3 separate regions of the Homo sapiens genome follow, and all the other regions are linked to region 3. Evidence: promoter capture Hi-C in 16 types of primary human blood cells and fetal thymus (Javierre and others, 2016). All regions are on one chromosome and are shown on one strand. The core of a region is centred on a gene start or on the middle of the fragment in contact, and the rest is flanking DNA. Distances in the headings are between cores, read along the strand shown.

What was found. Contacts are between HindIII fragments. The CHiCAGO score rates a contact against its expected background, and 5 or more counts as called.
Region 1: the fragment with the promoter of ZFYVE16 here is called in contact with the fragment with the promoter of CMYA5 in region 3 in 1 of 17 cell types (monocytes); the score reaches 6.0 in monocytes.
Region 2: a contact is called between the fragment with the promoter of SPZ1 here and the fragment with the promoter of CMYA5 in region 3, in 6 of 17 cell types (M1 macrophages, total CD8 T cells, naive CD4 T cells and 3 more). The highest score is 7.3, in M1 macrophages.

Annotation. Positions count from the first base shown.
Region 1 is chr5:80,405,971-80,409,434 of GRCh38, reverse strand. It overlaps ZFYVE16 (zinc finger FYVE-type containing 16), which reads right to left and starts at 1,371. Exons shown (of 19, transcript NM_001284236.3): 1 at 1,282-1,371. RefSeq lists a silencer at 771-890 and an enhancer at 611-1,409. The HindIII fragment of the contact is 4,043 bases long and covers 195-3,464 here.
Region 2 is chr5:80,318,592-80,321,675 of GRCh38, reverse strand. It overlaps SPZ1 (spermatogenic leucine zipper 1), which reads right to left and starts at 1,674. Exons shown (of 1, transcript NM_032567.4): 1 at 1-1,674. The coding sequence starts at 1,460. The coding sequence ends at 168. The HindIII fragment of the contact is 2,056 bases long and covers 250-2,305 here.
Region 3 is chr5:79,688,123-79,691,488 of GRCh38, reverse strand. It overlaps CMYA5 (cardiomyopathy associated 5), which reads right to left and starts at 1,653. Exons shown (of 13, transcript NM_153610.5): 1 at 1,433-1,653. The coding sequence starts at 1,581. It overlaps TENT2 (terminal nucleotidyltransferase 2), which reads right to left. Exons shown (of 15, transcript NM_001114394.3): 15 at 3,243-3,366. RefSeq lists an enhancer at 1,642-2,143. The HindIII fragment of the contact is 6,464 bases long and covers 1-3,366 here.

The sequences.
Region 1 (3,464 bases), core at 122-2,621, 720 kb before region 3:
CAAAAACTCTATTGGTCCTCAATAATTTTTAAGCGTAATTATCCCCAATCATAATGTTAAATGAACTGTAGCACTATTCTATCATGTAACATTATGATTGAGGATAATTAATGCGGATTTGGCTTTATCTGTAATATAACTGTTTCAAAAGATACTTTGCTCATGTATAATCAAGAAGTCATTTTTATGAAGCTTTTTAAAAACATGGGGAAATGCTTACAACGTAATTTAAATCAAGGAAAGCAGACAATCCAACGATATAAAATCTCATCTCAAGAAAATGCACAGGGGAAAAAAAGACTCAAAGGAAAAAAGTCAAAATATTATAAGTAATTGATTACTATTACATGGTGGAATTATGATTGATCATTTTTCCTTATTCTTTATTCTATTTTTTCAATTTTTGCCACTAAGCATGCGGTTTAATATCCAGGAGAGGAAAAAAAGGAAGAAATTAGGCGAAAAATTATATATAGTTCTACTGGATTAAACCATTAAACTCCCGCCAACTCAAGAGACGACAAGCTCAAGTGAATAAATGGAGGAATCTGATTGAATCAACAAAGTGCCTATTTTTTGAATTGAAAAGATTAACTTAATATCAAATGTATGGACTGGTTTTCATACAAGTCAAACTAATAAGAAAGAACATCCTTAGTCTGGAACATAATATTTGCAATCACGATAGTACAAATAAGAGTTAAAAATAAGGTCCTCTTTTGGAGTTCTCAAAAGTACCAAAGGAAAGGCAGCGGGAAAGACGGCCACTGCATCCTTCTGGTCTCTAACCAAGAGAAAATGCATGGGTGCGGGAATGGACAGTGCGAGAGCACCGGCGGCGATGAGACTCCTCTGCGGGGACCGAGCCTCTGCCACTCCTGAAGAACCACAGTCCCCTCCGCAGTCGCAGCCCCTCCCCAGGCGGGACGGCGGCGCCAGGGCGCTTCTCCCTCCGTCCGCTGGGGTCTCTCCCCCAGGAGCGCCGAACACTCCGGCGGCCCGGGAGCGGGGAACCGGGCAAACAGCCGCCGTGATTGCCCTCCCGGTCCAGTCCGGTCTGGCCCTTCAGGCTCCAGGAGGGGACATCAGATTGGAGGGCCAGGGTTCCCCGGCCAGCTCCGGGGGCTCGGAAAAGGAATCGGTCGGGGCCCAGGCTCTGTCCCCAGAGGAAGAGGGCCAGACCCAGCGCCCAGGTCGGCGGGTCCAGCGGTCACCCCGCCCCCCTGTGGGAACAGCAGGGCTGAGGGGAGGCCGAGACGACCGGTCACGGGGGGCTCTTACCTCCCTACAGCCCCTGCGGAGCTTTTTGGGAACTCGACACGACGTCGCGCTGAGGAGTGAAGAGCTACCCCGGCCGGGAGTCCTGGGAGTGCCAGATCCCGGCTCAGGGCTTCTTTCCCCGCCCCACCGGGCAGCGCAGAGAGCGCAGGCGCAGAGGACGCTTTCCTCTTCGGCTCACACGCCCCCTCCCTCGGCATCCGCGGCCGTCTCCAGGCCCGGGGCGCTTGCGCACTACGACGCAGGTTCCGAGCCAAGGGCACTAGATTTCTTACCGGAAGTGCCTGAGTGGGTTGTTGGGTGACGGGGACGCCTGATGATTCGACCTTAGGTCGGGACTCGGTTCTCCACTCGACTGCGGGATCGGGAGGCCACTCGCGTCAGTGTCTGACTTCCTTTACCCTTCGCTAACCTAGAGGCAGCTTCCCCGGCTCCAGCCTTAGCCCTTTGCTGAGCCTGCGCGGCGTTCCGGTCTCTACTGGACAGACCCGCCTTCCCGGCAGCGGGCTAGGCCTGCTCTCCGCGCTGCTGGCCCCTCGGAAAACATAACTTTTTGTTTACTTCAAACTGATTTTACAACACGCTGCCCCCCCGCCTCCCCCGCTTCCCCCGCTTCCCCTTCCTCCTCCCGGCAGCAATAAAAATGCTCCCAGCCAACGCCGAGCTCCAAGCCCCTCCAGCTGACTGGACATTCCCAGCCACACTTTCCTTCCCTTCGCTGCGTTAGTTCTGCATTTTTATTTTAAAGCAGCTGGTAGAACAGCTGTCTCCCTGTCTAAAAGCAAAAGCTGACTTATCTGATGTAGAAATAAAATGTCACTCACTTGATGTATATTTGCTTGTTGAGTTTTGCTATTTTTACCACAAGTTTCCTATAAATTTAAATGAGACCCGGCGCGGTGGCTCACGCCTGTCATCCCAGCACTTTGGGAGGCCGAGGCGGGAGGATCGCTTGAAGTCAAGAGTTCCAGACAGGCCTGGGCAACATAGCAAGACCCTGTCTCTACTAAAAATGAAAATGAAAAAATTAGCCAGGCGTGTTGGCGCGTGCCTGTAGTCCCAGCTACTGGCTGGGAGTCTGAAGTGGGAGGATCACTTAAGCCCAGGAGGTCAAGGCTGCAGTGAGCTCTGATGGCAACACTGCATTCCAGCCTGAGCAACAGAACCAGACCGTGTCTCTAAAAAAATAAAAAATAAAAACAAGGGAAGAGACATACATGTGGGATCAGATACAGACAGATACAGGGAAAAAGCAGTTCCTCAAAGGTTAAACAGCTCACAGTTCATACTGATCTTTCAAAAATCGCAAGAATTGGCCGGGCGCAGTGGCTCACGCCTGTAACCCCAGCACTTTGGGAGGCCGAGGCAGGCGGATCACCTGAAGTCAGGAGTTCGAGACCAATCTGGCCAACATGGTGAAACTCCGTCTCTACTAAAAATACAAAAATTAGCTGGGTGTGGTGGCGGGCGCCTGTAATCCCAGCTACTTGGGAGGCTGAGGCAGGACAATCAGGACCATTGAATGAACCCAGGAGGCAGAGGTCACAGTGAGCCAAGATCGAGCCACCACACTCCAGCCTGGGTGACAGAGCAAGGCTCCGTCTCAAAAAAGAAAAAAAAAAAATTGCAAGAATTATAATTTTTCGAGTATTCCAGCCACATGTGATTTGTGATGAAAGATTTGAGAATCAGGGTTCGCATCTTAAATCTGCAGTTTACAACTATAGTTCCTGATCTTTGAAAGATACTTAATCTTTAACCTTGGTTTTCCTAAACAACAAAATGAAATAGCCAAACTTTTGATTGCCTAAAGTAATGTGTGTATTGAGCATCTGCTTTGTGACAGTGTGTTAGATGCTTTGCTTACGTTATCTCATTTAATCCTAAGAATAATTCTACAAACTACAGTATGCCTTTTTCCTACTATGTGTTAGGCATTGTTCACAGATAAAATAAAATGGGGCCACTGCCCATGGGGAACCACAGTCTAGTAGCAGAGACTCACATATACAAATGCATACTGGGGACAGAAGTATTTATACGGTAAAGTGTGAGGGTAAAGAGAATAGAAAAAAGACACAAACACCTTAAATAGATCAATGGGGAAAGTATATACAATGGTCAGTTCACAAAATATGAAATTTAAATGCCTACTACACATTTTACCAATCAATATTCAAAGTCAT
Region 2 (3,084 bases), core at 425-2,924, 630 kb before region 3:
CTGCTGAAGTAATGAGTAATATAAGTGTCAATCTCCTTATTCTATAGCTCTTTCTTGGTTGAACCAGCAGATCTGCCCAAGGTTTGATGATTGATCATGACTGACAAGTTGGAGGTAACAGATGTAGTTTTTTAAGGATTCACCTTTTCATCTGCTTTTGGTATTTTCTATCTTAGGCTGCTAGCTGACCTCATTTTTCCCCTAAGAGCTTTTCTTGCAACATGAATATTGAACTGGGTATTGCAAGCTTTCTTATTAAGACAAACATCCAGGCTTCTACAGGATCTGTCTTTTTTCCAAAATGTACCCTTCATTGCTTGCTTGTTCTGCTTATACATTTCTACTTTCTTTGCTTCTGATGGCTTCTGATTTTTCTTGTCCTGTTTATAGTTTATCTGAATTGGCTTCTCTTGCAGAGTTCCCTGTTTCTGATGATGGAGTTCCTTGAGAATCTCTACTCTCTGCTGTAAGATTTGGCATTCATTCTCTAGCAAAGCTGCCATCAACTGCAATGAATAGGTGTCATGGCTCAGTTTCTTCACCTGTTCCTCCAGCTCATGCTTAGCCGACACTTCATTATTTGGCTGGGTTTGGAAACCGACTCCATTATTTCCAAGAGTTTCACTTATGTCTTTCTGAGATTTCTGATAGGATTTTATCAGTTTACTGAGCTCAGTATGTTGTTTACTCCAGTGTTCTGCTTCCTGTAGTAACTGCTCCATGTTGTTCCTAATTTTCATAGTTTCTTCTTGAACATTAAGTCTGTTTTTTGCTTTTTCCTGACTTTGTTGAGTTTCGTTAAGGACTTTTTTTTCTTCTAAACGATTTACCAAATCTCTTGCAAAAACTTGTGCGGTGTTCTCAGAGTTCTGGTTTTCCATTATCATCTGCTGTTTCTTTTCATTGTCTTCTTTCTCTGGGGCTAAACTAACAGGCAGGTTTGTTGATAACATTTCATTGATTTTGTCAAGTCCTCTGATATTTTCTTTGTGGGCTGACACATCCTCAGTAATATTGGTTTCCAATATCATCTCCTGTTTCTTTTCATTGTCTTCTTTCTCTGGGGCTAAACTAACAGGCAGGTTTGTTGATAACATTTCATTGATTTTGTCAAGTCCTCTGATATTTTCTTTGTGGGCTGACACATCCTCAGTAATATTGGTTTCCTCAAAAAGTTCTTTTGCTTCTGTGATCTTCTCTTCAAAACCTGCCATATTTTTAAGAATATCTTTAATTTCTTTTAAGAGATTGTTAAACTTCTGTGCAGTCTGTTGTTCTGTAACTTGATGGCTGCTATTCTTTAGGAAAGGGAGAGAGCCCCAGGAGGAAGGGGAATGTGATCCAATTTCGAATAAGGCAATGGTAATCCTAGGGTCCAGATATTCTTGATGAGGATCAGGAGTAGGGTTAACGGTTTTGGAGATGGTGGGCATCTCAGCTGACTTAGCAGAGCTGGCCATCAGGACAGAAGGAAAGCAGAAAACTTTAGAGATTCCAGGAAGGACAGGTGATGGTCCTTTGTGCAAATGTGGGTGGAGACTGTGGAATCAAGCAGAAGTCAGAGACCAAAGTTAAGGATTAAAATTTGGGAGATGATGTTTAGGTGGAAGGTGGCATCTCAGACAGCCTTGTGGGGAGGAAGGGTGGGAAAGGGGACCAAGGCTGGGGCTCCATCTCTTCTCCTCTAGGCACCCGGTGTTTATTCTCTGGCCCTAGCAACCAGGTCTTTATTTTGTCACTGCACCATTGTGGCCTATCCATAGTGTCTGTCTCCTTTGTGTCACAATGGAAGCCTCTTAAATTCCTGCCCAGTGACTCCTGCATCAAAACCAACCTTGAGCTATCCCTACTCCTCATGCCAGAAAGAGCTCTACAATAGCTCTTCCCCTCCTTAATTTCTAGGTTGCTATTCATCTCAGTCTAAATGCACTCAGTTACTTCTCTACGTCACCTCTATCCCCTCACAATCCTGACCTCAACCGCAGCATGTTTTGACCACTTAAGGACATTGCTGAGACCAGTCCTCTCTGGTGAGGTCCCCATCCTTTCATAGCACCTAGAGGCTCTATTGCTCCCATTCTAGGAGAGATGTGACTGTAAGAGAAAGTTATCCACACAAAACAAAACCCTGAGAGTGACAGCCTTTTGTGATTTTAGGAAAGTAATGTCAGGAGTCCCTCCATTCAAAAATATTCTACTGCTCCAAGAAGGGACTATCTGAATGGTTATAATAGCAACACAATTACAAACTGGGACTTTTCTTGGCTTTGAATATAGGCATCCTTTAAGACAGGCTTGGCAAGCTTACTCACAAATCATTTACATCAGGTGATAGAAAACTTTGACTATTACTTTTCACAGTAACTTATTTGGGGATTTTTTTTTTGGCTCTTTTATTGATCCCCTAAGATTTCCACACTCTACACAGTAACTTGTTAAAATGACATAGTTATATTTCTAAAGTGTTTGATTAGAAGGGCATGGTAGTGTGTGCCTGTGGTCCCAGCTACTTGGGAGGCTGAGGCGAGAGGATCACTTGAGCCTGGGAGGTTGAGGCTGCAGTGAGCCATGACTGTGCTACTTAGTGCACTCCAGTTTGGGCAACACAGCAAGATCTATCACAAAAAATTAAAAAATTGGCCAGGTGCAGTGGCTCATGCCTGTAATCCCAGCACTTTGGGAGGCTAAGGCGGGCAGATCACTTGAGGCCAGGAGTTCAGGATCAGCCTGGGCAACATGACAAAACCCCATCTCTACTAAAAATGCAAAAATTAGCTGGGCATGGCAGCACACACCTGTAATCCCAGCTACTCAGAAGGCTGAGGCATGAGACTTGCTTGAACCCAGGAGGAGGAGGTTGCAGTGAGCTGAGATCGTGCCAGTGCACTCCAGCCTGGGTGACAGAACAAGACACTGCCTCAAAAAAAGAAATTAAAAATTAAAAAATAAAAAGCATTTGAAACAGGTAAATTCTCTAGTGGGTTATAGAAAGTAACAAGTTTATTAAACTTCTTGCATTTTAATAAGCTGCTTTCTTGTCTTTTTGTTCTTAGGAGTCAGGTCTTGTGAATATAGAACTCAATC
Region 3 (3,366 bases), core at 404-2,903:
ATCACATCCTTTTCTGAAGGCCTTGACCTTTGTCAAATGGCAATGCAACCCCAGAGTGAATGGTCAGCTGCTCACATTTTAGTGTAAATGAGTTTTCAGATTCTCTTGGTTGTAAATTGTGGTTGGGCAAGGATATGAGGATCCCAGACAACAGTAAGGGAAAGGTTATAAAAGCTGAGTTGACAGACTTCCCCTTCTCAACACTGCCAAGGGATCACAGGTCCCCTACTCCCTGATCCACTTCCTACAGGTGCCTTCTCCTCTGCTCTTCCTGTTTGTAGTCCCTGCCCACTACTTCAAGGCAGCTCCAGCCCAACACTCCCTCTTCTGCCCTTGCACAGTACCCATAGTCCTCCCTTCCACCTCTATATAGTCTCACACTCCCCATGTTAGGGAAACGTTTCCCCATAGGGGAAAAAGTTAGGGAAACTTTTTCCACAAGGTCCTTGAGGCCAGGGACTGTGCTTGCTTCCCACTTGGCAGCTGTTTGATAAACAGGTGACATACATTCAGGACTTCTTGTCTGACCATCCATCCTCCTCAATGCCCCTCTATGGGCTACTTCTTCAACATCGGCTCTGCTGGCTTTGATTAGGTAAGCTGGGCGTTCTGAGATGGTACACACCCACCTGCCACCTTCAAAGCCTTTCTACTGTTATGAACAGACTGAGGAAGAGACATCACTGACTGACACACAGTCAGGAAAAAACCCAAAACTCATACTCAAGGAAAACAAGTGAAGGTAGAAGCTAATCCAAATAGACATTAGATGATTTCTATTATTCTCATTTTAGGGCCTTCTTAAAGGGACGGAGGGTGGGAGATCGAAGGGTGGGAGGTGCATCTTTTGTACATAGTATTACTTCATCGCATTCACGGAAACTGATATTTGGGATTTGGGACCAGGACTTGAAGAACAGGGATTACTGAAACTCATGCTTCTTTTCCCCCAAAGAATTTATGGGCCTTTGTATCAAAATAAGGTCACCTTATTGCAGCCTAGCCTACTGCTAGGCCCCCGGGGAGACCGCCATTCATCGGAAGGTACCAGTGCGCCTTCACCGCCTCCACCCCACCCCCTTCTCCTCTAGCGCAGGATTTCGCGATTGTTCCTGTGCCTCGGGCCAGATGTACGTGTTCCAGCACATTTCGGCAGTTATGCAGGACCTAAGTAAATCCTCAGGAATAAACAAGAGCAGCGAGTCACAAGGAGCTGGGGGCGGGGGTAATGAACTCTGCTGCAGGCGGGCCTGTCACTCCAGCTGACAGCGAGCACCTTCACCTTCAAGTTCTTTTAAACGACAGTGCACCCAGAGAGAAAGTGCCTAGCTCGAGGCAAACGAACCCCAGAGCTTAAAAACTTAAAGCAAACAAGCAAGGGTGCTGCTAGCTGCCCTGCAGGCCCTGGGCCGAGGAGAGAGGCTCGCGCTACCTGGAGTCCGGCTCCTCCTCCGACTCCGCCGCCGTCTCGTCCTCCTCGCCCTCCGACTCCTCCTCGGTCTCCAGCTCCCGGGTCGCCTCCTCGTCCCCGTCGGAGCCGAGAAAGCTCTCGCCAGCGTGGTTGCTATCGCGGCTCGCCATCGCCTCTCCCGGGCCTGGGCCGGGGCCGGAGCCGGAGCCGCCCGCGCCGCGCCTGGTGTTCTCCCTCCGACTGCTCTGGCCCCTGCCCTCCCCAGCCCTGCCCCTGCGGGGGCGGCTCGGGTTCCCGGCGCCGGGGGCGGGCGAGCCCCGCGACTTTAAATAGAAGGCGTCAAAGTTTCGCCACCGAGCTTCTGGGGCCCGGGCTCAGCTTCTCCTCTTCCCTGAGCCCTCCCCCGCCCCCGTTTCGCCAGATCCCTGGCGGGCCTTTCGGACAACTGGAGATCACTTTAAGGGGCGCGGGCTCCGGCTGCACCAGGGGGTTCAAAGGAGGAAAGGCAACCTAGCCCCGTCTCTTATTTCCTCCAGAGTGAGTCTTTTCGGTTTTGAGCTGAGCTACTTTCTGGACCCTTTATCCCAAACAATACCCTGAGCTGGGCACTTAACTACCAGGCACTCTGCTAAGGGTCTCGCTTTCATTACCTCGATTCTGTGGTGGTACCTGTAGAAGGTTTTACTGTAGTGCTGGTTTCCCAGATGAGGAAACTGAGACTCCGAAGAGCTCCAGCAGCTCAGGCTGTCATTGCTAGTAAAATGACCCAATGAGAAACAAAGCTAGGCGTGCCCTGCTCAAAAGCCCAGTTTTGAACCAGTGTTCCGTCCCGGCTCTCTTTATATCGCAAGTCAATATACTGTGTATTTTCTTGCTCAGTGGTCCCTGTTATTGAGCCAGGAAACTTTATCTCCACTCATCTTAAACCTTGAGGAGGAGCAATTTCCCCCACGTTAGCAAAAAGCTAAGTTTTGTCTGAAACTGGCCCAAATGCCCCAAACCTTTCCCCGGATCAAGTTGTGGTTAAAACCCCTCAATGGCTTCCCACTGCTCAAAGACTGAACCCCAACACCCTCACAAAGGTAACGGTTGCCTAACAGGCCATGTTTTACCTGTCTACTCTTTTTTTTTTTTTGAGATGGAGTCTTGCTCTTGTCGCCCAGACTGGAGTGCAATGGCGCGATCTCGGTCCAGTGCAACTTCCACCTCCTGGGTTCACGCGATTCTCCTGCCTCAGCCTCCCGAGTAGCTGGGACTACAGGCGCGCACCACCATGCCCAGCTAATTTTTGTATTTTTAGTAGAGACGGGGTTTCACCATATTGGCTAGCCTAGTCTCGAACTCCTGACCTCAGGTGATCTGCCCACCTCAGCCTCCCAAAGTTCTGGAATTACAGGTGTGAGCCCCCACGCCCAGCTGGTCAGGTGTCTTTAGAAGTCAGGAGTTCCCAACATTGTCAAGTCACTCCACTGTGTCTTTATTAACACAATTCCTTCTGCCTCAAAGGTTGGTCCCATTTTTACCAGGATACCCATCATTCAAGATCACCACCTTTCACTGAAATCCCAAAGTTAAACTCAGTACCTCTCTTCCAGGTTCCCACATAATCCTATATTCAAATTATGTTTGTATCTCCTTCCCCAGCAGACTTCGTAAGTTTACTACTCTTCTTTGTCCCATCATCCCCATCTCTTACAAGCCTACACACTAGCAAAGTAGCTAGCACATAGCAGGTACATATAATGGATGCTCCCTGAAGAGAACAGAACCAGAACTGCTATGTACAAATGGAGGTAACTTTACAATAAAGATATTCATTTCATGAGAATGATTTGATGGCTAGAAGAGTTAACATTTATTTTTAATTATAGCAAGTCACAGAGTTGTTAAATATGACTGTAAGCTGGGGATTATTCACCAGTTACACGAGCTGGTATGCATGCATTATGTCTGGA